Linked DNA regions of Homo sapiens: all the other regions are linked to region 3. The links are contacts of gene promoters, found by promoter capture Hi-C in blood cells and fetal thymus (Javierre and others, 2016). All regions are on one chromosome and are shown on one strand. Each heading gives the region's core, a stretch centred on a gene start or on the middle of the fragment in contact. The rest is flanking DNA. Distances are from core to core; before and after follow the strand shown. Region 1 overlaps NME7 (NME/NM23 family member 7). Region 2 holds the start of LINC00970 (long intergenic non-protein coding RNA 970). Region 3 holds the start of DPT (dermatopontin). Region 4 overlaps NME7 (NME/NM23 family member 7). Region 5 overlaps NME7 (NME/NM23 family member 7). Region 6 overlaps ATP1B1 (ATPase Na+/K+ transporting subunit beta 1). Region 7 overlaps NME7 (NME/NM23 family member 7).

Region 1 (4,139 bases), core at 124-2,623, 430 kb before region 3:
TATGGCAGAAGGGATAGCCAGAAGCAGTGAGCTTCAAAAGACATTTAGTGGGGTAGAACAGAAAGCCTCAGAGACTAATTGGATGTGAAAGGTAGCCTGTGGGAATGAATCCAGATTAATGCCTATCCCCAAGCAAACGTGATAGTACCATCTTTATCTGTGTTACCAAAATCTAATAATCTAAAAATGTCTGAAAACCAAAGTTTTTTCATAAGTTTAATGGTAAAACCTAACCTGTCTTATATCAAGTTGTGTATCATTAAACAGTTTTGTTTCAGTAGCTTGACAAAACATTTAATGTATATCATTTTTATTTAACCTATTTAGTGTGACTCTTCACACTGCTGTAAAAATATTAATGTATTTGATGATGAGTGACTTCCCAGACCCCTTGGAGTATTATATAATATATACTATATATTCCAGATTATTATTGTAAATTCCAAAACATCTAGTACCAGGAGTCTTGAATAAGAGATAGTAGACAAAGTTTGAAGTGGCCATGGAGAAAGTGCTGATGACAGAATATATATTTATGGGTTGTATTTACAATTCAGTTGATTTAGGAGATTACATGTATTATGGTGTTATTATTTTCTGGTGAACAGTTTGGCCCAGGGGTGAGGTTTTTACAGGAGGGTACGATGAGGAAAGATAATTGAGGATGTTAGCAACTATAGTTGAAGTTATAAACAAGGAAAGATGTGATGGCAGGAGGTGCTTGAAGAAAGGGATAAAGTAGATGGGCCAAGGGACCGAATGCTTTTCTAAGGTACCTACAGAGACCCCAGGAATAACAGGGAAAGAGCTGTGTCACTGTACACTTCAGAAGTGGAGCTTTCCATGGTAATGGATGATATGATTCAGGGTGTGGCCATGGAAGGAGGTAGCCAGTGTGGAGTGGAGATCAGTATCAGTCACTAGAGATATGTAAGTCTAGGAACTGAGAGAAGCTTTCATGTTGAGTGGCATTGAAATCACCTAGGATCATGGTTAGGAGGTAGGGTGGAGAAGAAAATGGTGACTCAAATTCTGAAGTCTTTCACAAACTAGGGAAGTTTGTGAACCAAAGGTGTGACAGCAACAAGGAGAAAAGATCTAGCCAGATGGCATAAGCCTCAAAAAGTCAGGAGTTCATATATAAGGGGAGGAGGTCTTAAAGTAGCACTGGGACAAAGGATAGAACTACTCCTACCCTCCTGGCCAGAGATTCTTATCCTGCGGACTCCAAGGAATTGATGCCCTTAGGGGATATCCAAGTTTCATTTAAGGCTAAGAGGCCTATGAAGAGATTCAAGTTTCAAGGGAGTTTACAATGGCACTGAAGTTCTGCAGAAAGCAATAGGAATAGTTAGAGATTGGGGAAGGGAAGAAGAATCTCAGAGCCATGTGAGAATAGCAGGATCGGAGAAAAGAGGTGAATATAATGGCCTCCATGTTGGTGGGTTGGGGTGTGACAAATTAATAATTAATTTTCTGGTCACTAGTAAATAGAGACCTTAAAATCATCTTTAAAAATGAGAACTTTTATTTTTCCGCCCCATAATTTGAGATCTGAAGGTAGGCATGTGGGACTGGTATGGCAACTCCGTAATACCATCAGTCACCCAGTCTCCTCCTCCTTGGTACCGTCATCATCTTTAGTATGTGCTTTTTGCCTTGTTGCCACAGAATGGTTGTCAGAACTCGAGTTATCACTTCTTTTTTCCAGGCATAAAGAAAGAAGAGTGAGGGCAAAAGGCGAAGAATGCCAGCTGAGCTAACACTTCCTCCCTCGCCCACCTTTAAGCTTTTCCAAAAACCAGAGCCCTCACCCAACAGCTTCAGGTTATGATTTTTGTTGTTGCTGGGATTTAGTACTGTGGCCGCCCCTTTTTAGAAAGGAAGTGAGTAAATGTAGTTCTGTTACTTGGGAACATTGCTCCCACTAGCAAAAATCAAGATACTGTTAGAAGGAAGAAAGGGAGAATGAATGTTGGAAAGGTAAAAAGCAGTATCTTCTCCAGGTGGTCAAGAGGCATTTAGCTAGTAAACAGGCTTCCAATGGAACTGGCCCTAGCTAATCCCTAGTGCAGTGGTTCTTATGTGTCCTCCCCTGCTCCAGAACAGCTGCATCACCTGAGAACTTAGGGGAAATGAAATTCTCGGGGTCCACTGTAGGCCAGCTGCTTAGCAACTCGGGGATTTGACCCAGGAATCTGTGCTTTAACAAGCCCTCCAGGTGCTTCTGATGCCCATGAAATTTGAGAACTACCGTCCTAGTGCAGCGGTTCCCAATCAATGGCATGCATTAAAATCACCTATAGAGTTTTTTTTAACTATGTAAGCCTAGAGCCCTATTATAGAAGATTCTGGTTAAGGAGGTCTGGTATGAGCTCCTTATATCTATAGAGTAGAGCCCCGTTATTCATGGTTTCACTTTCCACAGCTTCAGTTACCCATGGTCAACCATGGCCCAAAAATATAAAATGGAAAATTCCAGAAATAAACAATTTATAAGTTTTAAATTGTATGGTACCTTAAAGAGCAGGGTTGCAAAAATTAAAAAATAAAAAGTTTTAAATTGTATGCCGTTCTGAGTAGTATGAGGAAATATTACAGTATATTGTTATAATTATGCTATTTTATTGTTAATCTCTTACTGTGCCTAATTTATAAATTAAACTTTATCTCTCATACATATGGAAAAACGTAGTATAGATAGAGTTCGGTACTATCCACAGTTTCAGGCATCCACTGGGGGAACTGGAACATATTCCCCACTTATAAGGGGGCACTACTGTATTTTATGTTGCAGGTGATTCTGATATTCTGATATGGCTGATAGTTAAACTAGCATTTAGAAACCACTGTCCCAGTGAGTAGGGGCACACCAGACTTTTTTAAAACTTGTAAAAGAACCTATCAACATAGTAAACAGACAACCTATCGAATGGGAGAAAATTTGGGCAAACTGTGCATCTCACAAAGGTCTAATATCCAGCACTTATACAAAACTTAAACAAATTTACCAAAAAGATAAAAAACCTCCATCAAAAAGGACATGAACAGACACTTCTCAAAAGAAGACATACACCAGACTTCTTCGAAGTCGGCTTTGGTTCTGCTTTTGAGGAAAGCCTAGACCCTGTGAGAAGGCCAGCAAAGGGATTGTTTTGCTTTCAGGACTTAACTGACAGTTGGAAGCAGCAGCAGCCTCTTAACTTTGAAAGGATCAATAGCCTCTCTAGATGGATTTAATTGTAGCCAAGGGTTGTTACACTTCCAACGGAACTCCAGTCTCTGAATGGGGGAATCTGTGGCTTCTGTGGAAGGAGCCAGCCATGACCTGATTGATTACCCAGATTTTTTGGGGGGAAGTCTCAATGTGAAGGCTGCCATTTGCCCTCCCAGGGAGGAGGAGAGGCCTGAGATATGTGGTATGCATGTATTGCATGGATGCTGAGGGTAACAAGGGCAGAGGCCCTGGGTTTCTTGCAGCTTAAAATAGTTATCTGCAGGTTCATCAAATCTGCACTCACCATTTGGCATGGTCATGTGGCTCAGAGGTGTACAGGGGACCAACTCTTGTCATTCTCCCTGTGGGTTGTGTAAGTGCCTTGAGGACCTGGGCTTATAAGGGACTTTTGTATCTCCAGCTGCTAACATATTGCAGGCTTTTAGTCTGTTGAGTAAATGCATGTGGGAATATATCATGAATGGGGACAGTGCACCTCCATACCCTCTCTCTCTTTATGTGGCGGAAATGTCTCAATGACCTGATGAGAGTGAGCCCCACTTTCAAGTACCACATCTCACCATTCCCTCCACCTGCCAGTTGCCAGAAAAGTCCACTGCAGCATCCCAAAAATGTGAACAATTATTATGTATCAATTAAAAAGGCCACGTCCACCAGCATCTTCTTTCATTGCTGTTTATTCAAGTAAAACCTGAAATATGTGCATGTGGAAAGCGAATGGTTTGCATGGATTCTTTTCTTCCTTCTCAAACCTGATATTTCAGAAGTCTCTACATTCATCGTAAAAACATCATGATAATATAAGAGGCCTTAAGCTATCAAATTGTAATTCTTTATGGCCCAGTTAGTATTTCATCAGCATTGGTTGTTTTCTCAGATAAAAGAATCTTGGATAAGGAGC
Region 2 (3,738 bases), core at 471-2,970, 360 kb before region 3:
CTTAGCTTAGTGGAACCCCCTGCTTGGATTAATGCTCAGTTGTCACCTTTTTGAAATTCTTAATAAATTTTCTGGCAAGTGCCCTGCATTTTCATTTTGCACTGGACTCTGCAAATTATGTAGCAGGTCCCGACTCCCTGTCTGTGTTTGAGCATTTTCTCTCTCCCTTTCACATCCTCCAATCCGGCTTTCCAAAGGCAGAGACATCACATACACTCATCTTAGTGGGACCTGAAACATCTGCCAGGCCTTTAGAATAAACTAGTAAGTGAAGTATTCAAAATAAATGGATATTCATACATACTGGCAAACTAATGGAATGGAATGATCATGCATAAATCATTGACTGGTGCCAGCCACTGAGCTATGGGTTTATATACTAATTTTGTTTAACTGCCACCTCAAACCTGTGAGAGAGTGCTATTATTCTGATTTTACAAATGGGAGAAGGGAGGCTCAGGAAGGTCAGTAAGTGGCAGAGCTCACACACTGAGTTCTGATGTGTCTGAGTCCAAAGCCCATTCCCATTTCACTGCATTCCTAACTGAGGCCTGGAAAACTTACCCCTGAGATCACAGCATTGCCTGAGAGGAAAAAGGACTTTTCCTATGGTTTTCACACTTTCACTTTTTGCACTGGATCTTTCAGTTGTCTGGTTAACAACTAGGTTACGTCATTCTATATGGGGCTTTCAGATACAGAGCAACTTTCCCAGGACCACCCATTAAACTAGAAGTGAAGTGATATCGTTGTTCTCACTATGATGGTAGGGTGAAGGAAGCAGATTGGCCATGCCAAAACTGATGTCCTCTGAGATCCCGAGGCCCAAGCCAACATTTGACGGCATACCTCACTCAACAACACTTTTACCTGTGTAATAGAAAACAACAGCCATTTATAACTCGCTTATTCATTTTTTTTTTCCACAGGCCTCTGCGCAGCATCTGCTATGTGCAGGCACTGTGCTAGGCCCTGTGGAGACAATAATGAAAAAGATATAGCCCCTGCTTTTCAGATGGTCACAAATTGGCAGAAGGGTGCAAACTCATAACTCTCTTTATTCCAACATTTTGCCAGCTCTGGTTGTAAAGTTGAGGAGTTAGGAGTTGGAGTAAATTTAGGAAATGGGTAGAATATTATTTTTGCAGCTCATTGGAATTCTCCCTTGTTACAGATCAGGGTCCTGGGTTGGGTGGCATACCTATGCCTGTCATTATTTGCATCCCTGGTTTAACAGCTGGCTCTGGCCAATCTTATACGATCCTCTACCTTAGCAAACAGAAACACAGTTTTTGAAAATTCACATGAAGAAGAGTTGAATAGCAAATAAGTTCAGCCTTGAGGCTCCACCTATTACCTGGCTGTTGAGCTTTGTAAAACCATTGATTGTTTAACAGCCAGCAGGGCAAGAAGGCCAGAATTATGCTCAGCAAATGCAGAAACAGAGCACAGTTGTCTGTGTGTGTTTCCATGGTAACAGTGATAACAGCTTATATTTATAGACTCTCTATCTCCAAGGAGCTCAAAGCACTTTACAAACACATCATCTCTCTTCTATAGGAAAAAGAGAGAAGGAGAGAGAGGGGGATAGGAAGAGAGGTAGAGAGAGAGAAAGAAAGGGAGAGAGGGAGGGAGGAGGAAGGGAGAGAGGGAAGCAGGGAGGGAGAGAGAACAGGAGAAGAAGGAGGAGGTACAGAAGGACTTGGTGTGCTATTATGCACATTTCACAGATGGCACAGAGTGGGGAAGTCAGTGACCCAAGGTGGCAAGGTAAGCCAGTGACAGATGGTAGATTGGATGGACCTAGTGGCTCATATAACTCCTGGAACTTTTGCTGCTGGCCTTGAGCAGATGTCAGGGCTGAGCTGCTGTCTCCTAGTCATCTTGCTCTGTTCAGTGTCATCTAGGTGATCAGATAACTCCGGGGACATCAAAAGCAGTTTGGCTCAGTATTGTTGGTGGGAAACACAGGGAAAATTCTTCCATGGGGAGTTGGGGATAATGTCCAAAGTCCTTATAGCCAGACAGCCACCAGGCAATCCCAGACTGTGTTCCGAGGGATGACAGGCTCAGCTGTGCTGCACACTCATACTGAGGCTCTGCGCACATTGATGGAAATGGTTTTCTTCAAATAGAGCCCATTTCACAGTTTCTGAAGGACCTTTGGAGGAAATGCCTTTTGGGTACTTCTTTCTGAGACAACTATTAGACATGTGATGTGACTTGGAGTTATCTGAAGGCTGTAGCCTATGAAATTGAAAATGAGTTTTGTAAATCTCAGATCTACTATTTTCTGTATAAAATTCTTGTATGAATAGAGCCATGTCCTCTGGTGGAGGCCTGAACTCTTGGAGTGGGTTAGCATGAATCTCAAGCTCTTGAGTCCTGGAGCAGCCTGTCCCCATTCTTCTTTAGCCAGAGTTGGCCTTGGTCCCCACTTCTTACCCTCACAGGCCTTCTGTTTTCCCCCTCACTGCCACCTCACTCCACATTTAGCCTTTGGAAAATAGCAACTATTTTCTCTTCTAAAAAAGAGTCATTTTCTGCAGAGCATTCAGTCAATCCAGCCAGCAGTCCCCATGGCAACACTGAGATAAGATCCTTCCTCCCGCAGGTCTTCAGTGGTCTTGATAAACAGATCCCACCGGTTCCTGCAGCCCATGACCTCAGGCTGAAGCCAAAGATGAGCTTCTTGCCTGTTTAGGCTTCAGGGATGCTGGACTGAAGGGCTGATAGTTTGAGTAGCTGAGTCCCAGCAAAGTTTAAATGCTTTACAAATAGGCTTCTGACCCCCAAAGCAAAAATAAATTAAGCAAAGAACTTCCTGAAGGAGGAGGAGCAGTTGTTGGAGGGCCTTCTGGTTTCTGCACCATCTTAGTAGTTGACCTACATCCACCAGCGCCTGGAGGCTCACCCACCCAGGGGGAGTGAGTGGGCTCTTCCTCTGACCCTCTCAGGGTGGGCTGCACTCAGACTGAAGTTCTTTCTCTTCCTTCAAGATGCCAAGCTCCCTCTTACCTCCTGGCCTTGAGCTCCAAGCAGGAAGGAGCCCCAACCCCTGGTTTTGTGCCTGGTGCATACTCAGAATTTGTAAAGGAATGAACTCCTTTTGGCTGTTCCCTCCCTCCCTTAATCTTCACACCTTTTTCTTGGCCTTCCCAGTCCTCCTCCTTAAGGTCCCTCTTAGACACTCTGAAATTCCATCTCTCCCACTTCTTCCTATATAGTATTTTATCTTTCCCTCATTACAGCACTTATCACACACTATGGCAATTGCTTATTTTGATAGGAGTTTCTGGATGTCACTGAAACTGGCTTTTGGAGGTTTGTTGGAAACAGCATTTAAAGGTTTACTTCTGAATTAAAAATTAATATTCTGATTATTAAAGTTAGGATTAAAAACATAGTTTATTTGGGTTCAACTTATATGTGTAATTATTTTATTTTATATTTTTCCCAACTTTTAAGTTCAGGGGTACATGTACAGGTTTGTTACTATTTTATTTTTTAGTCTAGCAGAGTTTAGCAATCACTTCTAAAGGGCCTATGAATAAAGTTAATTACTTTCAAATAGTTTAAGCTATGATTATTAGTTATAATCGCCATCTCTTTCTTTTCCTATATGCATTTGTCTGTATTAACAAACTAAACTTTTTGGAGGACTTTAATACTCATATACATTTAAGCTCTTAAATGTATAAATATAGGATCCTAAGGTTCTCTTGTATGTTCCAGTAA
Region 3 (4,148 bases), core at 792-3,291:
CAAACTTCACAGAGGCTGTAGATAGAATTGGTCTATGATCACAATTCTAAGAAACTTTAAGAACAATACTGATGAGAAATGGGAAATACTATGTGCTTAAGAGATGCCCAAAGGTTTCAAAAAATTTGAAAAGCCAAATCATCAACGGATGCATGGAATGGGTAATGAGCACATGAAAAGATGCTCAAAATCATGGATCATTAGAGAAATGAAAATCACAACCACACTGAAATATCACTACAAACCTATTTGAATAGCTAAAATTTTTTAATGGCAATTTTCTGGTAGTGGTGGGCAATGGTATCACCACTTTGGAAATCAGCTAGGTAGTTTCTTGCTTTCTTTTTTTTGTTTTTTTGAGACGGAGTCTCGCTCTGTAGCCCAGGCTGGAGTGCAGTGGCACAATCTCGGCTCACTGCAAGCTCCGCTTCTCGGGTTCACGCCATTCTCCTGTCTCAGCCTCCCGAGTAGCTGGGACTACAGGCGCCCGCCACTAAGCCTGGCTAATTTTTTGTATTTTTAGTAGAGGCGGGGTTTCACCATGTTAGCCAGGATGGTCTCGATCTCCTGACCTCGTGATCCGCCCGCCTCGGCCTCCTAAAGTGCTGGGATTACAAGCATGAGCCACCACACCCGGCCTCAGTAGTTTCTTTTAAAGTTAAACATACATTACCTTGTGAACCAGCAATCTCACTCCTAGGTATTGACCCAAATGAAATAAAAATTTGTTCACACAAAAACCTATACATAGATGTTTATATCAACTTTATAATTACATTTATGTAATTCATTATATAAAATATAATGAATATAAAATTCATTACATAAAAAGTAATGAATTTTCAAAAACTGGAAACAACCCAAATGTCTTTCAACTAGTAAATGTATAAACAATCTGTGGTACATCCATGCTATGGAATATTACTCAACAATAACAAGAAACAAAATACTAACACATACAATGAGATGTTGAATTTTAAAATGGATGAACCTTAAAAGCATTATGCTAAGTGAAAGATGGACATGAAAGGCTACGTGTGGTATGATTCCATTTACTTGACATTCTGGAAAAGGCAAAACCATAGAGACAGAAAGTAAATCAGTGGTTACCAATGGCTGGGTGTTTGGGAAGATTTGACTGCAAAGGGATATAAGGGGATGTTTTGGATTGATGGAACTGTTCTAAGTCTTGATTAGGGTGCTGGCTATGTTACTGTACATTATGTATTTTAAAAGGTGAATTAATTATATGTAAATTATAACTCAATGAAAAGAAAATTCAATGTGAGGGCAAAAATACTGAAGGATAAATAGGGGGTTTATTTAGATTAAACCCATTACATTTTGAGAGCAGAGCACACTTTCTAGACTTGACTGGGTCCAATTTCAGCAGCATGGTAGAATGCTTAAGTGTAGAAATCATATCCAACTTATCTCCCCATGGGCCCATAGTACTTCCTTATGCAACTTATGAGTTCTCAGAGTAGCCCTGCAAACTGGTATACCCGCGCTTATACTCAAGGGTTAAAAAGTGTTGGATTGACAACTTAAAAAAAAAAACAGGCATTCAGCCTTACAGAAATCCTAGATGGCTCTGTTACTTCAGTCTATGATTTCGGTATTTTGAAATCACTGTCTGGGTATTTGTGTGGCCCGGAAGGCTAGTTTGGAGAACAAATACAGGGGTTTGCTAGTAGCGGGTAGGGTAGGACAGAAAGGGGTGAGGTGCTGAAAGGTGAGGGACAAATATGCTACTAATCAGTGTTTTTCAAGTGAATATTTCTACAGGGTAGAGCAGCAGTTGGCTTTTATAATCTAGATACAAAGTTGTTCTTTCTCCAGGGAGCTTCTTAGACTTACATGCTGCTGGTATATTCCTAGAATTCCACCTTAAAACAAGCTGAATGTCCTTATGGCTGACATCTCAGCATGGAAAAGTTTTGCTTAAGCAATGACACACTGCAGTTGGATCCTTCTCACCCACATCTGGAAGCCACATGTCAGCGGCAGCTATATAAAACGGTCAGACCAGCAATCTTAGAGTGACATTGTTTGCCAAAATCCCAGGCAGCATGGACCTCAGTCTTCTCTGGGTACTTCTGCCCCTAGTCACCATGGCCTGGGGCCAGTATGGCGATTATGGATACCCATACCAGCAGTATCATGACTACAGCGATGATGGGTGGGTGAATTTGAACCGGCAAGGCTTCAGCTACCAGTGTCCCCAGGGGCAGGTGATAGTGGCCGTGAGGAGCATCTTCAGCAAGAAGGAAGGTTCTGACAGACAATGGAACTACGCCTGCATGCCCACGCCACAGAGCCTCGGGGAACCCACGGAGTGCTGGTGGGAGGAGATCAACAGGGCTGGCATGGAATGGTAAGGGCCAGTCCCTGCACTGCACTGGGGCTGGGAACATCTCTGCATATCCCTCCTCCTGGGGGCTGCTAGACTCTCAAGGAATATCAGTAACCAAAGCCTGGGCAAATCCCACCCCAAACCTCACCACTGCATGCTCTGGGTGGAGCAGGGCTGCTGCTGAGCGGACTACATGACAGGACAAAAACCTGGGATGGGGAGTGTCTGTGGGAGACAGACTCCTCTGTGGCTCTGTTCCTTCCAGAAGCTGTTCTACCTACTCTCAGTTTGGGCCAGGGGCTGGTGTAGGTCGGCGAGAAGCTTGCTTACCAGACTACCAAAAGATATGTACAGAAACTGAAAGTAATAAACTTTATAGAAATTAAAACTTTCTGTGCCATCGGAATGGCATTTTTCTTTTTTAGAAATTTATTTTTACCATTTTACAAAAGTACTGGCCCACAGTAGTTTGGGAACAAGAAAAATAAACAATTGATCTCTCAGCACGGAGGGTTTGAGAACTATTGATTTAGAGCAAGTGAATGGAAAAGAGGGGACAAGGACATTTAGGCAAAAGAAAGTGGAATTAAATAGCTGTCTACTGCCTTGATTAAATGTGCTCTCTCAATTATGAGTACTGAGGTCCTTCTCTCTGCCTGAATTTAAAGTGGGTTTTATTGCTGGAAAATAGTTTACTAAAGGGTTTTGGAGAGAGGTGCTGTCTTCCCCTGACTGCATTCTGCCTTAAGCAGTGGCATGGAATTTTTTCGAGCTTGTACTTTTTTGTGGGGTGTGATTGTCTCAGCTGGGTCTCAGCCCAGGTGCTTGGTCAGGAGCTCATCCTAGTAGGCACTGACTGCTAGGCTGATTATTTACAACAGCCTAGATGGAGCCAGCACTCTAGGAGGCTTGGAGGAGAGAACGGAGGAGGCAGTCCAGGGAGGAGGAAGCCCACCTGGAGGGCTGCTGCATGTGCTATCTGTAGAGCAACCCAGATGTGTGGCAACAAGTACTTAGTGTAGTGGGGATTGGAGGGGTCAAGCACAAAATCTGGCCAGGTGTGGTGGCTCACGCCTGTAATCCCAAACACTTTGGGAGGCTGGGGAGGGAGGATCACTTGAGATCAAGAGTTCGAGACCAGCCTAGGGAACACAGCCAGACCCTATCTCTACAGAAAAAAAAAAATTAGCCCGGTGTAGTTGCATGCAGCCTGTGGTCCCAGCTACTCAGGAGGCTAAGGTAGGAGGATCACTTGAGCCCAGGGAGTCGAGGCTGCAGTGAGCCATGCTCGCACCACTGTATTCCCTCCTGGGTGGCAGAGCAAGACTCTGCCTCAAAAAAAAAAAAAAAAGAAAATAGAAAAAAGAAAAAGCATAGAACCCTGGGGGACACAACCAGTAGAGAGGTGATGATGGGAAATCCAAGAGGAAGAAACACCGATGGGTGGGGGAGCCAGGAAAGAGAGCGGGCCTTTAAGTAATGACAACAGCTACCATTTATTGAGTGCTTACCCTGAGCAGGCTCCATGCTAAGTGCTTTATGTGGATCATCTCGTGTAATGCTCAAAACAAGGGTATATCCCATTTATAGGTAGACAAACTGCAGTCTAGAGATCCAGTATTTCCTCGGCTAGAAAGCTGGGGTTTGGATCCACAGAGTCTTTGCTTCAAAGAGTTTGTACTTTGCCACAGTGACGGGCTCCTGAGAGGCTGCTGCCTCCACCCAGAGTGGGCTCCCACCCGACAGCTGACTCTGTCAGCAGAGCCAGTGCCACAGGACCAGATTCAGGGCA
Region 4 (3,635 bases), core at 603-3,102, 450 kb before region 3:
ATGGTTAGATTGACTGCCCTCAAGCTTATGTTCAAGGTTTCCATTAGCATGAGAGAGGTTAATACTGCAGATATTATTAGTCTTGGCTCAGCCCTTAATGTAGAATGTTGCTCAGAAGTTAAACCTCGGTCCTGGGAGAGAGCTACTATTCTCTAGGTCTCTACTGTCCAATATGATGGCCATTAGCCACATATAGCTCTCCAGCACCTGAAACATGGCTGGTTCTAACTGAGATGTATTATACACAAAATACACACCCAGGACTTGAAAATTTAGCATAAATTAAGAATGTAAAAAAGCTCATTAATAATTTTTATTAATTACCTACTGAAATAGTATTTTGAATATATAGGGTTAAATAAATTATTTTGTTAAAATTAATTTCACTTCTTATTAATGTGGCCACTAGACAATTTTAAATTACATAGGTGGCTCACATTACATTTCTTTTTGACAACATTGCTATTGGTAATTATAGGAGAAGATTAGATGGTTTCAAAAAATGCTCACCTTGGTCTGGAATCTTAGCTGCTTACTGCAACTTTAAAGGGAATCATAGAAGACATGCGGCAGTTTAGGAAATTAACCTTTAAAGAGAGTTTGCCCCAAGTGGTTGGATCTTTGGATATACTCTTTCTTCATTGCTGGATAGGAGGTCTGAGACTGTCCGTAGAACCAAGTTACCCATATCTGTAAAAGGCAAAAACTGTCTGCCTCGTCAGCAATTGTGCTGACAAGGGGATTTGTGGGATTCCTGTGAAATAGTACATGCTTTTAAAAACACAAGTACTATATAAGTGCCTCATTGTTAGCTATGAGTTTATTTATAATACTATGAAGACAATGATTATATCTACTAAATGCCTCCAGTTTGGCCAGACACCATTAGACATTTTATGGGCATTATCTTAATTAATTCAGCCAGATAACGCTGAAGCTAGGCCTTTAAAGGCACCAAAATCTTTCTACTAACTGCTGAGACTAATGTTGCTACTCTAGGACAAATAAACCTAAATTTTATAAAATCTCTATGTTATTTTATAAATTGGATATAACTGTACTAAGATCAGTTTGTTAGACCCATTGTTTCTTTCTTTGACTGACATGCCTTTTTTTTTTTTTCCAACTTTTATTTTAAGTTCAGGGGTAAATGTTCATGTTACATGGGTAAATGTGTTCCGTGGTGGTTTGCTGCACAGATCATCCCACCACCCAGGAATTAAATCCAGCATCCACTAGCTATTCTTCCTGATCTTCTCCCTCCTCCCACCCCTGGTCCTCTGACAGGCCCCAGTGTGTGTTGCTCCCCTCCTCCCCTCCATGTGTCCCTGTGTTTTCATCATTTAGCTCTCACTTATAAATGAGAACATGCGGGTATTTGATTTTCTATTCCTGCGTTAGTTTGCTAAGGATAATGGCCTCCAGCTCCATCCATGTTTCTGCAATGGACATGATCTTGTTCCTTTTTATGGCTGCATAGTATTCCATGGTGTATATGTACATTTTCTTTATCCAGTCTATAATTGATGGGCATTTAGGTTGATTCTATGTCTTTGCTATTGTGAATAGTGTTGCAATGAACATACAGGTGCATATGTCTTTATAATAGAACAGTTTATATTCCTTTGAGTATATACCCAGTAATGGGATTGCTGGGTCAAACGGTATTTCTGCCTCTAGGTCTTTGAGGAATCACCACACTGTCTTCCACAATGGTTGAACTAATTTACATTCCCACCAACAGTGTAAAAGCATTCCTATTTCTCTGCAACCTCACCAGCATCTGTTGTTTTTTGACTTTTTAATAATAGCCATTCTGACTGGTGTGAGATGGTATCACATTGTGGTTTTGATTTGCATTTCTCTAATGATCAGTGATGCTGAGCTTTATTTCATATGTTTTTTGGCCACATGTATTAGATCCATTATTTCTGATGGTACTTTTATAACTTCACTGCTATACAAGAGGTTTTAGGCCAGGTGCGGTGGCTCATGCCTGTAATCCCAGCACCTTGGGAGGCCGAGGTGGGCAGATTATCTGAAGTCAGGAGTTTGAGACCAGTTTGGCCAACATGGTGAAACCCCATCTCTACTAAAAATACAAAAATTAGCCGGGTGTGGTGGCACATGCCTGTAATCCCAGCTACTCAGGAGACTGAGGCAGGAGAATTGTTTCAACCCACGAGGTGGAGGTTGCAGTGAGCTGAGATTGTGCCACTGCACTCCAGCCTGGGTGACAGAGCAAGACTCTGTCTCAAAAAAAAAAAAAAAAAAGAAGAGGTTTCAGCTAGAAGTCTAATTGATTATAGGTGACTTTGGAGGGAGCAATTTCAATAGAGCAGTAAAGCTGAAAACCAGATAGCAAAAAGGTACTTACTAAGTGGGAACAGGGAAAACAGCTTTCTGTAGAGATGAGGAAGAAAGATGGAGCCTCAGAATATCACTGAGAGTTCAGCTCAAGAAACAGAAACCAGCTTAGGGATGTTTTTTAAAGGAGTTCGATTCAAGGAAGTAGCTATTTACGAACTTAAGTTTCTTAAGTGTTGCAGGGCCTTAAGTCAGGAGTTGCCACTGGAGCTATTGATTTCAAGAGTACCTTCCCATACCTAGAATCCTGAAGTTGCTGCTGCCTCCACTGCTACTACCATGGCAGTGACTTAGGCATTGAGTCTGCCACAACTCAAACACTTGTGTCTCCTACCTTGTCTGCCTGTAGCAACATTAGCAAGAAGGTAGCTTCTGCTTTGTCCTGTCTTCCAAATCTCATTTAGGACTTCCACATCGCAAGAATTCTAGCCAAAAATGTGTCTGGGGAATGTAGTTTTTAGATTTCTAATTTCCATCTAGAAGGAGGATAGAATAAAGAGTTGAGAGAGTCACTCTGTAGAATCGATCACATCTGATTTCTGTTGCTTATTGTAAGCCATTTGTAAGGCAATTATTAAGAAAGAGGAGAGGCTGGGCACGGTGGCTCACGCCTGTAATCCCAGCACTTTGGGAGGCCGAGGCGGGCAGATCCTGAGGTTAGGAGATCAAGACCATCCTGGCTAACACGGTGAAACCTCGTCTCTACTAAAAATACAAAAAAAAATTAGCTGGGTGTGGTGGCGGGCGCCTGTAGTCCTAGCTGCTCAGGAGGCTGAGGCAGGAGAATGGTGTGAACCTGGGAGGCGGAGCTTGCAGTGAGCCGCGATCACGCCACTGCACTCCAGCCTGGGCGACAGAGCTAGACTCTGTCTCAAAAAAAACAAAAAACAAAAAAAGAGAATTGCTGAGCCAAGGGAAATACTGTGTGTTTTCATGCTTGAGGTAGGAAAGAGCTTGGTGCCTTTGAAAAGTTGGAAGGGGTTGATGTGACTAGTTTGAAAAGTTGGAAGGGGTTGATGTGACTAGTTCATTTCAGGTGGGGTTGGAGAGTTAAGCAGGAGCCAGAGCATGCAGGACTATAGGTTATGTTGAGAAGTTTTTCTTTAAGAGACAGGGTCTTGCTGTGTTGGCCACGATGATCTTGAACACCTGGCCTCAAATGATCCTTCCACCTTAGCCTCCCAAAGTGCTGGGGTTATAGGGATGAGCCACCACACCCAGCCCAAGAATTTTGCATTTTCTCTTAATGAAAGCATCAGAGATTCTTC
Region 5 (4,047 bases), core at 952-3,451, 490 kb before region 3:
TTTAGACAAATAGTAATTAATTAATCAAAATTTTGTTTAAAATGGGATATATATAGTTTCAAAATCCCTTCCCACAAAATATTTATTAATTAAAAAAAAACCCTTAACATTATAGTTAATAATGTTAACATAGGCTGGCAGACAATAAGAAATATTAAAAAAATGTAGTGATAAAAGTGAATATCATAGATTGGAGGAAAATTAAATCATATACCACAAGATAGGATGAAATAAAAAGAATGTAACATTATTTCTGTGATATTCCTGCCAAATATTTATAACTGAATTCAATTATACAGAAATATGACATGCCCATGGCCTCTAATCTTTAGAAATATAAAGGTCACAAAGTTGAATAAAGACTGAGGAACTGTTCAGGACTGAAAAACACTGAAGAGACATGATATCTAAATGCAGCATGTGATTCCAAGTCAGGATACTTTGGCCATAAATGACATTATTGAGATAATTAGTGAAACCTCACCAGGGTCTAAGTATGAAGACTGTATTGTGGTTATATAGGAGGCTGTAGTTGTTGGTAAGAAATATAAACTAAAATATTTGGAGGTAGTGGAGCATCAGATTAGCAACTTATTTTTGAACGATTCATAGCAAAAACAAATTATCTGTAGTCTATTAGTAACTTTTCTATAAATTTACAGTTCTTTCAAAATAAAACTTAAAATGTCAAGTTTTTACAACTCAAAAATAAGTAAATAAATAAAATGTCATTGTCTGTGAAGTCAAGGCCAGCTCCACTGAAAATGTGAAAGAAATAGATTATATTGTTTAGCTCCTTCCTCTCCTCGCCATAGTCCTGAGGTCTCAGCCCGGGGTTCCTCTATTGTCTTAACAGAACAAAGTCTCTAAGCAGGTCTGGTCAATTTGGTCACACTGAGACACAAATTACTATTCAGAATCAATATATTACCATTTCCTTGGGGTTTTTTCCTTTTCCTTTACTTTTTAAACAGATTTCATTATTTTTATTTTAAAAGAAAATTTCAACTTTGGAATTTTAGTTTCCAGGAAGCTAAGAAAAGCTGACTTACAGGACTTCATAGTTGCCCTTCAATCATTCATGCATTCATAAATGTTTGAGTGCCTACTGTGTGCCAGGCAGTATTCTAGGCACCAAGGATACACCAGTGAACAAAACAAATGAGAAAGTGAGAGAGACAGAGAGATAAAATCTCCTCACAGGGCACCAAGCTTACATTCTAGTTGGAGACAGATAATAAACAAATAAAAAATAGAATACATAGTATTTCATATGATGGAAAATGAAGAAAGGAAGCAACCTGAGTTAAGGAAGTGTAGATAGGATTTGATTATAAGTTGGAGTCATCAGAGAAGGGCTCACTAAGAAAGTGATATTTAAGAAAACATTTAGCTAGGGACAGTGGCTCATGCTTGTAATCCCAGCACTTTGGAAGGTTGAGGTGGGAGGATTGTTTGAGGGCAGGAGTTCAAGACTAGCCTGGTCAATATAGCAAGACCCTGTCTCTATTTAAAAACAAACAAACAAACAAAAATAAAACAAACAAACAACAACAACAGACCAGACTGGGCAACAAGGTAAAACCTCATCTCTACAAAAAATACAAAAGTTGCCAGGCATGGTGGCACATGCCTGTAATAGGTTAAGGCTGCAGTGAGCCATGATCGCACCACTGCACTCCAGCCTGACTGACAGAGTGAGACTCTGTCTCAAAAAAATTTGGGTGTGTGCACATGTGTGTTCAAGTTTATGTGTATATAAATATATATAAATATATTTATATATTCTACTGGCACATATACTACCTGGCACACAGTATATAGGTATACAAATATATTTCCATATATTTGTATGCATATAAAGACTTGAATATGTATAAATATATGTAAACATATATACATATAAAGCTCTTGAAAAAGCCAGCCATGCTGATTTCTCAGTGAAGAGCATCCTAGGCAGAAGGAACAGCCAGTGCAAAGGCCTTGGGAGAGGAGCTTGCTTGAGGTAATCTAGAAACACCATGTAATGAGCAAGGTAGAAGATAAGGTCAGAGAGATGAGGGACAGGGCAGATCTCATAGGTCCTCATAATGACTTTAGCTTTTACTCTAACTGGGACCATAAGTTATTGAAGAGTTTGGAGAGAAGAGTGACATAATTTGATTTTAAAAGAATCATTGTTACTAGTGTATTGAGAATAGTCTAAAGACAAGAGTGGAAGTTATAATCCAGGTACAAGATGATGGTGAGTTGGACCAGGATGGTGGTAATAGACATGGTGAGAAATAGTCGGGTGTTATTTACCATGTGTTTACCTTTTTTCTCTTTATCTTAAGTGGATGAGTAGATGAAGGTTAAATTGATGAAATAGAAAAAGGGAAATGGAAGAATCCTTAGTTCTACGGAGTAGAAATGGAATAAAACAGAGTTCTCTCTACTCTATTATGATTTTATCTCACTCTATTGATGAGAAAATGGAAGGTGAATTCATATTCCTGCCTGTCAATTTAGTACATAACAACGCTTAGAGAAGGCATTTATACCTAACCAGAGATAACAGGCATATCCACAGATTAACATGTGCCAAGCATTTCTATTACTAGTTTATAGTAAAAGAAACATTTTTCTTAGGTAATCAACTTAATTTATTTTATAAGCATTTTGTTAACTTTAGCAAATGTAAAAATAATTTAAAAATACATTTTCAGGAAAGTATTAAGTGGTTTAAATGCATTTTAACATAAGAAAATTGAAAGTAATCCAAGTACAGTGAGTATATATAAAAAAAGTTATGTGTTAGTAATTTATTTTCTTTGAAGTGATTTGCATGCAATAACTTGTAATACCTATTAAGTGATTCAGTGATTACAAAATAATCCTGGAGAAAATGATCATGTGTTTAATGAAGAAACATTTGTCTAACCGAGAAAAAGAAAGAAAACCCTCATCTCAATGTCGTATATTAGTTGGATGACCAACACCGTTCCCAATTTGGCCAGGACTGTCACAGGTTTCACACTGAAAGACCAGCATCCTGAGAAATCCCCCAATCCCAGGAAAAGTGGGATGGTTAATCACTCTAAATAATTTACCTTTTAATTGTATACCTCTTAAAATTGAACTGTAATAAAGTTTATTTATATTCACTTATAATTTTTAAATAGATGTTATATTAAGTTATAAAAGCTTAGAAGTACAGTTAAACTACTTCCACCCACATCCACAAAAGGTCAATTAGATTTATTTTTTAATTAACTTTTCATTTGCTTTATAAGTTATCCTTTCATTGGAATTATTTACAGGTAGAGGTATTAAGTACAGGCCCACTTCTCAAAACAACATATGGGTTGAAAGCTAAAGTATAGAGGTTGGGGAAAACATGCGTAACTGAAATGTAAGTCCGTGTTCAAACTCATGATTTGTGAAAATCTTTCATGAAGGAGGCAAACCAAAATGATAAAAAAATGAGGAAAAAGCTGTCTTGGAAGGTCTCCTTAGCCTTCCTTCCATCAAGTTTCTGTAGCTTCTTCATCATATAAGGTATATTGGAACGCATTTCAGAATAGGAGATTTAGAGTAAATATTTATTTATTTCAACTGTCATTATCTATTCATAAATTCAGGCATTTATTAAACACTTGCTATGAACCTGATATCATGTTTATTTATTGGGGATTCAAAGAGGAGTTGAGACCCTTAAGAAGCTCTCAGTATACTGGGAGAATCAGACAAATAAATTGCAATAATGTATTGTAGGCTGGGTACAGTGACACATACCTATAGTCCCAGCTACTTTAGATGCTGAGGTGTAAGGATCACTTGAGCTCAGGAGCTCGAGACTAGCCTGGGCAACACAGTGAGATCCTATCTCAAGTCATAATAATTATAAGATATGATAAAGGTTATCTTAGTGAGAAGTACAGAATGCTCAGGAAATACAGCCATCCTCTGGTATCTTGGGGGCTTGGTTCCAGTACCCCCTCAGACACCAAAATCTGCGCATAGTTAAGTCCCTTATATAAAATGGTATAGTATTTGCGTGGAACC
Region 6 (3,829 bases), core at 746-3,245, 390 kb before region 3:
GCAGGAGGGTGGTGGATGGCTAGACAAGTGAAGGAGAGCAAATGTCAGAAACCAAGGAGGGATCTCATCTGACCTTCAGGGAAGGTCAGGGGAAGACCCACAGCCAGGGGACCATAGGGACATTGGTGTGATAAACAACAATTATGCAAGCTGTGGTCCATCAGCAGAGGGCGGGATGCAGCAAAAGCCAAAATATAAACAAGCCTGATACTGAGATTTGGAGAGTCTCACCTAACAAGCTGAAAGGAGGAGTGACCCTAGAAGGTCATGTTGAGAGTAAACATGGTAAAACCTGGATTGCGAAGCAAGTGTCACAAACATCCTTGTTCTCCCTGGCCTGGCTTCAGTGAGCCTCTCCAGTGGTTTGCCTCTCACTTTCTGGCTGCTTGCATTCTCTCTTCCAGTGGCTGCTCAAGGTTCCATTACTTTGATATGAGTATGAGGAATAGTGATGCCATTTCTCAGATTCTCCCACACAAAAAAAAGGAGAGTAAGAACAGGAGGAGGTATTATGCTGAGCGCTTTTCATTCCTTCACAATGTCAAGTCCACGGTTTCCACTATTAAAAGTGACCAGGGGACATGTGTCAGACTCAAAACATCAGCAACTCTCACTCAGTCCTCTGGGCTCTTTACTAACAAAATGATAAGGCTAGTGCATTCCCCAGGAGCCTAGGGGCTATGACCAAAACTAAGTTCATGTTTACTGATAGACTATGACAAATCTTTCTTGTAAGTGCCTCTGTTGTTAATCATCTAGGAATATGGCCGGGAATGGTGGCTAATGCCTGTAATCCCAGAACTTTGGGAGGATGAGTTGGGTGGATCACTTGAGGCCAGGAGTTCGAGACCAGCCTGGCCAACATGGTGAAACCCCATCTCTACTAAAAACACAAAATTAGCCAGGCATAGTAGCACATGCCTGTAATCCCAGCTACTTGGGAGGCTGAGGCACGAGAATCGCTTGAGCCCAAGAGGCAGAGGTTGCAGTGAGCTGAGACAGCACCACTGCACTCCAGCCTGGGCAACAGAGCGAGACTCTGTCTCAAAAAAAAAAAAAAAGAAAAGAAAAGAAAAAGAGAAAGAAAAAAAATATCTAAGATCACATTTGTGAAAATAATAGGTATTACTGTTACATGAAGTGGTACTACTGGCCCAGAAGAGAGTTATATACACAATTGGCCTCATGTCTCTCTAGACGGGGCAAATAAGAAATAATGAAAACCAAGTAATGGAATCACATCCCTTTCAACCTGAAAGCCCAAATTTTTCAGTAAGCATAGCTCATGATCTAAGCCAGTCAAGTTTATAATTACTTTGTGAGGGAAACATAGATGCAGGCTGCTTGAAGAATCTTGACTTTGCTCTTACAGAAGCATCAGAAACTAGTGAAACCAAGAAAGCAAGGGGTGAAACATAAGACAGCTAAGCACGGAGTCTTAGAACCCTGTGACTTGCCCAGCTGGATTAGACCCTAGGCCAAAGCCTCTGCCCTGTCCTTTCCATTTTAAGTAACAGAGAACCTTGGTAGAAGGAGCCGAGGAATGACAGATAAACCCCAGAAAGCTCAGTCATGTCTTACTGTTTTGTGAGCTCATGTTTCCCTCTGGAGTCTGAGGGGTCTTAGACGGTGGTAACTAACATAAGCCTTAATGACCATTCATTTAAGATACAGAGCTTTTGATCCAAACGTCATTTCCAGTAAAAAAACAGATGGTCTGGGTTTAGGTCATGCAATCAGCTCACACATGCTTACTACATAAACAAATGTCCAGGAGGCCACGCCACAGTCAAGTGGCCGCTGCCTCCTTAGTAGCTCTTCTGCTCTCTTTCCTCACATTTCCACAAGGTCTCTCACTCCATCACCCACTATCTCTGCCTCCTCTCTTTTCTTTATCCGAAGCCTGATGGCCTGAGAACTTCTCCTGGAAATTACCACAGATCAGCCCCCGGGTCTGTTCTGTTCTGGATAGTCTTAATTAGGACAGTTTTTGATGAGGTCTTCTCCAAAGATTAGAAAAATTCCTCTTCTCAAGTTATTTCTCTAAAGCAACTAGATACTCACAAGAGAAAGATGAAAGACCTTTGAAAGGATGTCCAAATCCTTTAAATCATTTACTTTAGGATTATCAGACTGTTAAGAAGAGATAGAAAGCAATGGGATTGGATTTGGTAATTATTACAGACAGTTCCCAACTTACAATGTTTGCCTTATGATTTTTCAGCTTCACAGTGGGTTTAGCAGGGTTAGTAAATGCATTTTTGACTCACAGTATTTTCGACTTACAATGGGTTACTAGAACATAACCCCATCCTAAATCGAAGAGCATCTGCATTTTGAGGCCACACCCAAATTCTCCAACCATGACATTCTCCAAGGGCTGCACAAATCCCACCTTGCTGACTGGAGTTCTCATGAGTCATATTTCACACTAGACCAGACGCTTTCTCCCATCATGCCCCTCTTTCTACTGCCCACTTCTTAAAGTTGTTAGTTATGACTCTGGACAAGGATGAGCTCTGTTTGCACTGGTAACTCCCAGAGGGCCAAAGACAGCAGAACACCCAATCGCTGGCACGCAATTTCAAGTTATATTCCAGGAAACAAATCTAACCTTTTCCCTCTCCAGTCTTCTAAACTTGAATTTACATTAACCACCCTGAGCTCTAGAGACAGCTTTGTTCTGATAGGATCATTTGCCTTAAGCTATATATCATTAATTAACAAAGCCACTTGAAGAGGCAGAAATCATAATCTGGGTATGTAAAATTTTAATATTTGGTTTTCAATGAGTATTTCAACTTTACATAAGATTTAGATTTAGAAAAAACTTCTGGCTTCCCACTTGCTTTTCAAAGACACATTTACCTGCCTTTGGTCCCCATCTCTTGAGAAATAAGGAAGATCCTCCATGTTTAGCTTTAGTAAGTGTTGATAGCACAAGGGGGAAAAGGCTTGAGGGAAAGGATTTTGTTTCTTTAGGTTTATAATGTAGCAAGTTCATCATTTCTCAATCTACATGTGAGTTTAAAGTATTTAAACTAGAATGTAGCCATTTCAACCTTGTAAGTTATTCAAATGCACAGCTGCTTGCACCTGTCATTTAATACATCTGATAAATCACTAGATCAAATCTCTAAATAGGAATCATTTCCCATGGAAACCTCCAGGAAGGTACCCATATGACTGAGAAGGGCACAGGAAGCAAAGAAATGCTTTTAAATGTAGCCATGCACAAATCATGTGTCTCCTATACATTCCGAGTTGAAAAGTAATTTCCAATTTTAAAAAAAATACACAGAGGTATGAATTCATACATACTCACACGTATATGTACACATAAACACACACATATGTATGCATACGCACATATATGAGATAGAAATTTCTCCTTTAAGTGCCACTCTGTAGGACCTAAGATATTTCTGGATTTTGTTTGTTTATTTTTGTTTTACATCTGTGAGTTGGTATCAACTTACCTAGCAAAGTAAGGGGAGAGGCACAGAAAAAAGGCGCCTTTGCACTTTCTGGAAACTAGCCACCTTTGACTCACCTTCTGCCTCCAGCTCCCAGACTCAGGCTCTGAGATTAGCAAGGAATAAATCTCCCTGCCTGCAGGCAGGGTCACATTCACACCCTCCGACACTCAGAATCTGCTCCCTTTACAAAGTCTTAGAAAACTGAATCCCCGGACTGTCTCTACAGCCAATCTGGATGTTTACCAACACTCAGGGTAAAGAAATCATTCCTCCTGTCTAAGCTAAATGCCGTGAACTCTGATTTAGGCTCTTCTCTGATCCGTCCTCTTCTTCCTGTGGCTGTATATTCA
Region 7 (3,671 bases), core at 122-2,621, 410 kb before region 3:
AGGTCTCTCCAGTTACCATGTGGAAAATGGACTGAAGGGGGTCAGGTTGGGATAGATTTGTTAAATAATAGTATAACAACTGAAAATACATTGATACCATGTACTTTAATTTATGGGTTGTTATAAATTCATAAAATGTGTCTAGGCATTAGTTTCTCCATGTGGAAAATGATGAGGCTGAACTTGTAATTCTCAAAGCTTGGACTCCCCTACAAATGAGCTGAATAATTGATCCTCTGAGACCTGGAGGCAGCAGCTCCAATCCTTAACCACTTCCTGTGCCGGCTCCAGGATGCCATGCGAGAATGAGCATTTTCTAGGTGCACCATGAGGTGACAAAGATTGAGAGGCCCTCCTCTAAACCCCTTTCCTGCACTAACATTCCATGATTCTAGGTTTTGAGGAAATCAAATTCTAATCCGACACCTTGGTTTTACCATTGAGGAATGTGTTGCCCAAAGAAGGAAAATGGCTCACCTAAAATTGCATGGCTTAGTGTATAGAACATTACTCTCCTAACTAGTAATCCTGGGTTTTTCTAGTTTGCCATACTGTCTCTGTATCCTTTGTAAGCAGTATAATGAATTATTATAATTATCAAATTGCAGGTGCTTCTTTTTCTTTCCTCTATTTATGAACAGAAGTACAGTTTATTCTTTTTTGATTACCAGTTAAGAATTTATTGCTGTAAGTCATCAAGCATCGTTTTACTAAAACTTGAAGACTAGAAATGGAGAAATTAATTCCTAGGAAAACAACACATCTTATCTTATTCTGGCTTAGCTGAAAATATTGCAAGACTAGCATTTCTATTTCAAAATCAGCCCAAAGGCTGTGAGCATACAGAAGTGATGAATAGAAAGATGTTAGCTGAGCTCTTAATGACTTTTACTTGATTTGAACTTGAGTTCAAAGGTAAATCAAAAGTTTAAAGTTGAACTTGAATCTTACTATGCCATATAGGCTTTCCTTAGCCTTCTGGAAAATCTAAAGTATAAGGGAGGTCCAGGAGTATAGTGATTCTGGGCACAGACTCTGGAGTCAGGTGGTCTGAGTTCAAATCCCCAGCTTCTCCTCCTACCAACTTCATGACTTAGGAAAAATTACCTTTCTCAGACTCATTTTATCTACTTGAAGAGTAGAAATAATGACATTTCACAGTAAAAATTAAATGAAGCAATATATGAAGTAATTTTCTCTTAAATCTTAAATTACCTCAGCATATGCTTTCACAATTTCTTTCCAATTTTAAGTGACAAAGTCCATCCCAGCTATTCACTTCATTATCTCATGAATTCTGATTATGTATTCTCTCAGCTTTTATCCAATCTAAGAGCTTTTTCACTTTTCTCATCTGTCCTTATAAAAAAAAAGGCATTCCATCTTCTAAAAAATTTTTATTTCTATTTTCTAACTCTATTATTTTTGTCTTGGAGCTTTTCTAACTGAAATGTGTATGAAGTATAGCAATAGGAACTTCCCAAGAAATAAAATATTCTGTGGTTTGTTTTTCTTGTAAAGAGTACTGTAATTCCTTGGGTTTAATTGACAACATCCTTTATGAGGACACTCAGCATATCAGCATTGATGGCCTCGTAGACAGCAGTCTTGGCCCAAGTATTCAGGGAATGACGAGGACATACTCCAAGATCCTTTTCCCGAATCACTGTTTATTGTTTATAAAACTCATCTTGTAAGCCTGCTTTATTTCCTTATCAATACCCAAGGTAATCCTGTTGAAGTTTACTCTGCTTTTCTGCCCATATTCCCCACTTCATCTTTTGAGGCCTACCTGTCTCCTTGGCACATTATCCATGTTAAGTGCCTCCAAGGTACTGTGGATACTAGTAAATGCCAAATTAAGTGAGGGGTTTTATTCTTTCCCCAGATCACATATAATGATATCAGATGGGCTTGGTTTGGGCTCTGATTTCGGAGGCACCTACTTTGACTAACTATCTAGGACAGTAGTTTTCTTTTTTTTTCTTCATCCAGAAACTTTATTGTAAATCATTTGTCAACAAGATCTGCATTTCTAATTTCAGTTTGTCATTCCTCTGAGGCACAGAGAAAGGAAAAGATGAGATTAGGGTTAATGTTTATTGAGCACTATGTATAAAGGATCTTATTTAGTCCTTATAAACAATACTAGGGCAGTGGCTTTCAACCCCAGTGGACATCAGAAGTGTCTGTGAAGCTCTTTGAAAATGTGGACGTCTAGGACCTACCCAAGACCTAATGAATCAGACTCTCCAGGGTGGGGGTGTAAGCATCTACTTTTTGGTTCTTTAAAGATCCATAGGGTGATTGTGATGTACAACCAAGTTGAAAATCACCAATCTTGAGAACTGGTCTTTATATCTACAATTTCTTTTATTTGAAATCTTTTTTTTTTTTTTTTAAGGATAGACTGTTCCCTGTCAAAATCTTTTCTTCTCTGGGAGCCACAAAATGAATTTCTAAGAGGAAGTGTCAAGGTCACCTGAGTTTTTCCCCTCTGCTTGCTTGGCATTCATAACTGAGAAAACCCATCCCTGAAGCTTTACTGTAGCTGATTTGTAGCAGAGCCCATCCTGGGCTACTAGTTTCAGAGTGGGAACATGGGGCCATATGTCCTTTTTAAAAAAGTATTATTTGTATAATGTGCTACAACTTTATAAATTCACCCAGAAACTTACATGCCCACTAAATCCAATGAGGTAGGTTTTATTATCTTCAATTTTTAGATTAGGAGACAGGCTCAGAGAGTCTAAATGATTTGCCTAAGAGCACTAGGAAATAGTGGCTAGAATAAAACTCAATTCTTCCAACTCCAAATCTAGTACTCTTTCTGTTCTTTCTACTGATTAATATTTTTATCATTCCATTTTGAAATAATTTCAGACTTATAGAAAAGTTTAAAAAAATACTTTCCACAAGCCCTTTACCTATATTTGCCAAATGTTAATATTTTACCATGTTAATCATCCTTTCTTCTGTCTTTCTGTACATATGAATTTAATTATTTATAATATTTAACAGTATGTTATAGATGTAATTCCCCTTTATCTCTCAATACTTCAGTGTATATTTCCTAAAAACACTGATATTATCTACAGTCACCACAGAAAGTGATTGCGAATCAAGAAGTTAACATTAATACGATACTATTATCAAGGTACAGACCTTCATTTTTTACCCACAAATGTCTTCTGTGGCAAAAGAAGAAAAATAGTTTCTGGTTCAGGATCCAGTCAGGGATCACATATTGCATTTGGTTCTCACGTCTGTTTACTATCTTAGTTTTCAAAGTTTTCTTAGTCTGCCTCTGCTGTTCATGACTTGAATAATTATGTATGCTATCATCTGATAAGCTGGAATTGACAGTTCTGGCTGTCAGCACTTGATGGAGTTATTCAGAGATACTTGGGTTCAGTGACATACAGCAGGATGGGCCATAACATTAGGAGAATATTTGGAAACCAATAATAGTGATATTTATTATGCAATATTTATGCTGGACACTATTTTAAATGTCTTCCATATAATTCCTCATTTAAACTTCACAACAAACCTACATAGTAGGTATTGTTACATTATAGATGTGGAATCTGAGGAACAAAGAAGTTAAGTAACTTGCTCAAGGTTACCTGGCCAGGAGATGGCAGGGCTAGGAGTCAAATTCCAACAGC

What was found. Contacts are between HindIII fragments. The CHiCAGO score rates a contact against its expected background, and 5 or more counts as called.
Region 1: a fragment that was not itself captured here is called in contact with the fragment with the promoter of DPT in region 3 in 1 of 17 cell types (M2 macrophages); the score reaches 5.0 in M2 macrophages.
Region 2: the fragment with the promoter of LINC00970 here is called in contact with the fragment with the promoter of DPT in region 3 in 1 of 17 cell types (M2 macrophages); the score reaches 6.7 in M2 macrophages.
Region 4: a fragment that was not itself captured here is called in contact with the fragment with the promoter of DPT in region 3 in 1 of 17 cell types (M2 macrophages); the score reaches 5.3 in M2 macrophages.
Region 5: a contact is called between a fragment that was not itself captured here and the fragment with the promoter of DPT in region 3, in 1 of 17 cell types (naive CD8 T cells). The highest score is 5.6, in naive CD8 T cells.
Region 6: a contact is called between a fragment that was not itself captured here and the fragment with the promoter of DPT in region 3, in 3 of 17 cell types (M2 macrophages, M0 macrophages and M1 macrophages). The highest score is 9.6, in M2 macrophages.
Region 7: a contact is called between a fragment that was not itself captured here and the fragment with the promoter of DPT in region 3, in 1 of 17 cell types (M2 macrophages). The highest score is 6.2, in M2 macrophages.

What each region holds. Positions count from the first base shown.
Region 1 is chr1:169,156,787-169,160,925 of GRCh38, reverse strand. The region is part of intron 11 of NME7 (NME/NM23 family member 7); the gene reads left to right. Among named protein-coding and RNA genes, the nearest start is that of ATP1B1, 52 kb to the right of the region's middle. The HindIII fragment of the contact is 836 bases long and covers 956-1,791 here.
Region 2 is chr1:169,084,987-169,088,724 of GRCh38, reverse strand. It overlaps LINC00970 (long intergenic non-protein coding RNA 970), which reads left to right and starts at 1,720. Exons shown (of 5, transcript NR_104091.1): 1 at 1,720-1,770. The HindIII fragment of the contact is 14,978 bases long and covers 1-3,738 here.
Region 3 is chr1:168,727,099-168,731,246 of GRCh38, reverse strand. DPT (dermatopontin) reads left to right here and starts at 2,041. Exons shown (of 4, transcript NM_001937.5): 1 at 2,041-2,377. The coding sequence starts at 2,073. The HindIII fragment of the contact is 3,243 bases long and covers 1-2,679 here.
Region 4 is chr1:169,177,460-169,181,094 of GRCh38, reverse strand. The region is part of intron 10 of NME7 (NME/NM23 family member 7); the gene reads left to right. Among named protein-coding and RNA genes, the nearest start is that of ATP1B1, 73 kb to the right of the region's middle. The HindIII fragment of the contact is 3,651 bases long and covers 27-3,635 here.
Region 5 is chr1:169,219,408-169,223,454 of GRCh38, reverse strand. All of the region lies in intron 10 of NME7 (NME/NM23 family member 7), which reads left to right. Among named protein-coding and RNA genes, the nearest start is that of ATP1B1, 110 kb to the right of the region's middle. The HindIII fragment of the contact is 1,974 bases long and covers 1,215-3,188 here.
Region 6 is chr1:169,118,183-169,122,011 of GRCh38, reverse strand. The region is part of intron 2 of ATP1B1 (ATPase Na+/K+ transporting subunit beta 1); the gene reads right to left. Among named protein-coding and RNA genes, the nearest start is that of ATP1B1, 13 kb to the right of the region's middle. The HindIII fragment of the contact is 4,833 bases long and covers 1-3,829 here.
Region 7 is chr1:169,139,457-169,143,127 of GRCh38, reverse strand. All of the region lies in intron 11 of NME7 (NME/NM23 family member 7), which reads left to right. Among named protein-coding and RNA genes, the nearest start is that of ATP1B1, 35 kb to the right of the region's middle. The HindIII fragment of the contact is 2,342 bases long and covers 201-2,542 here.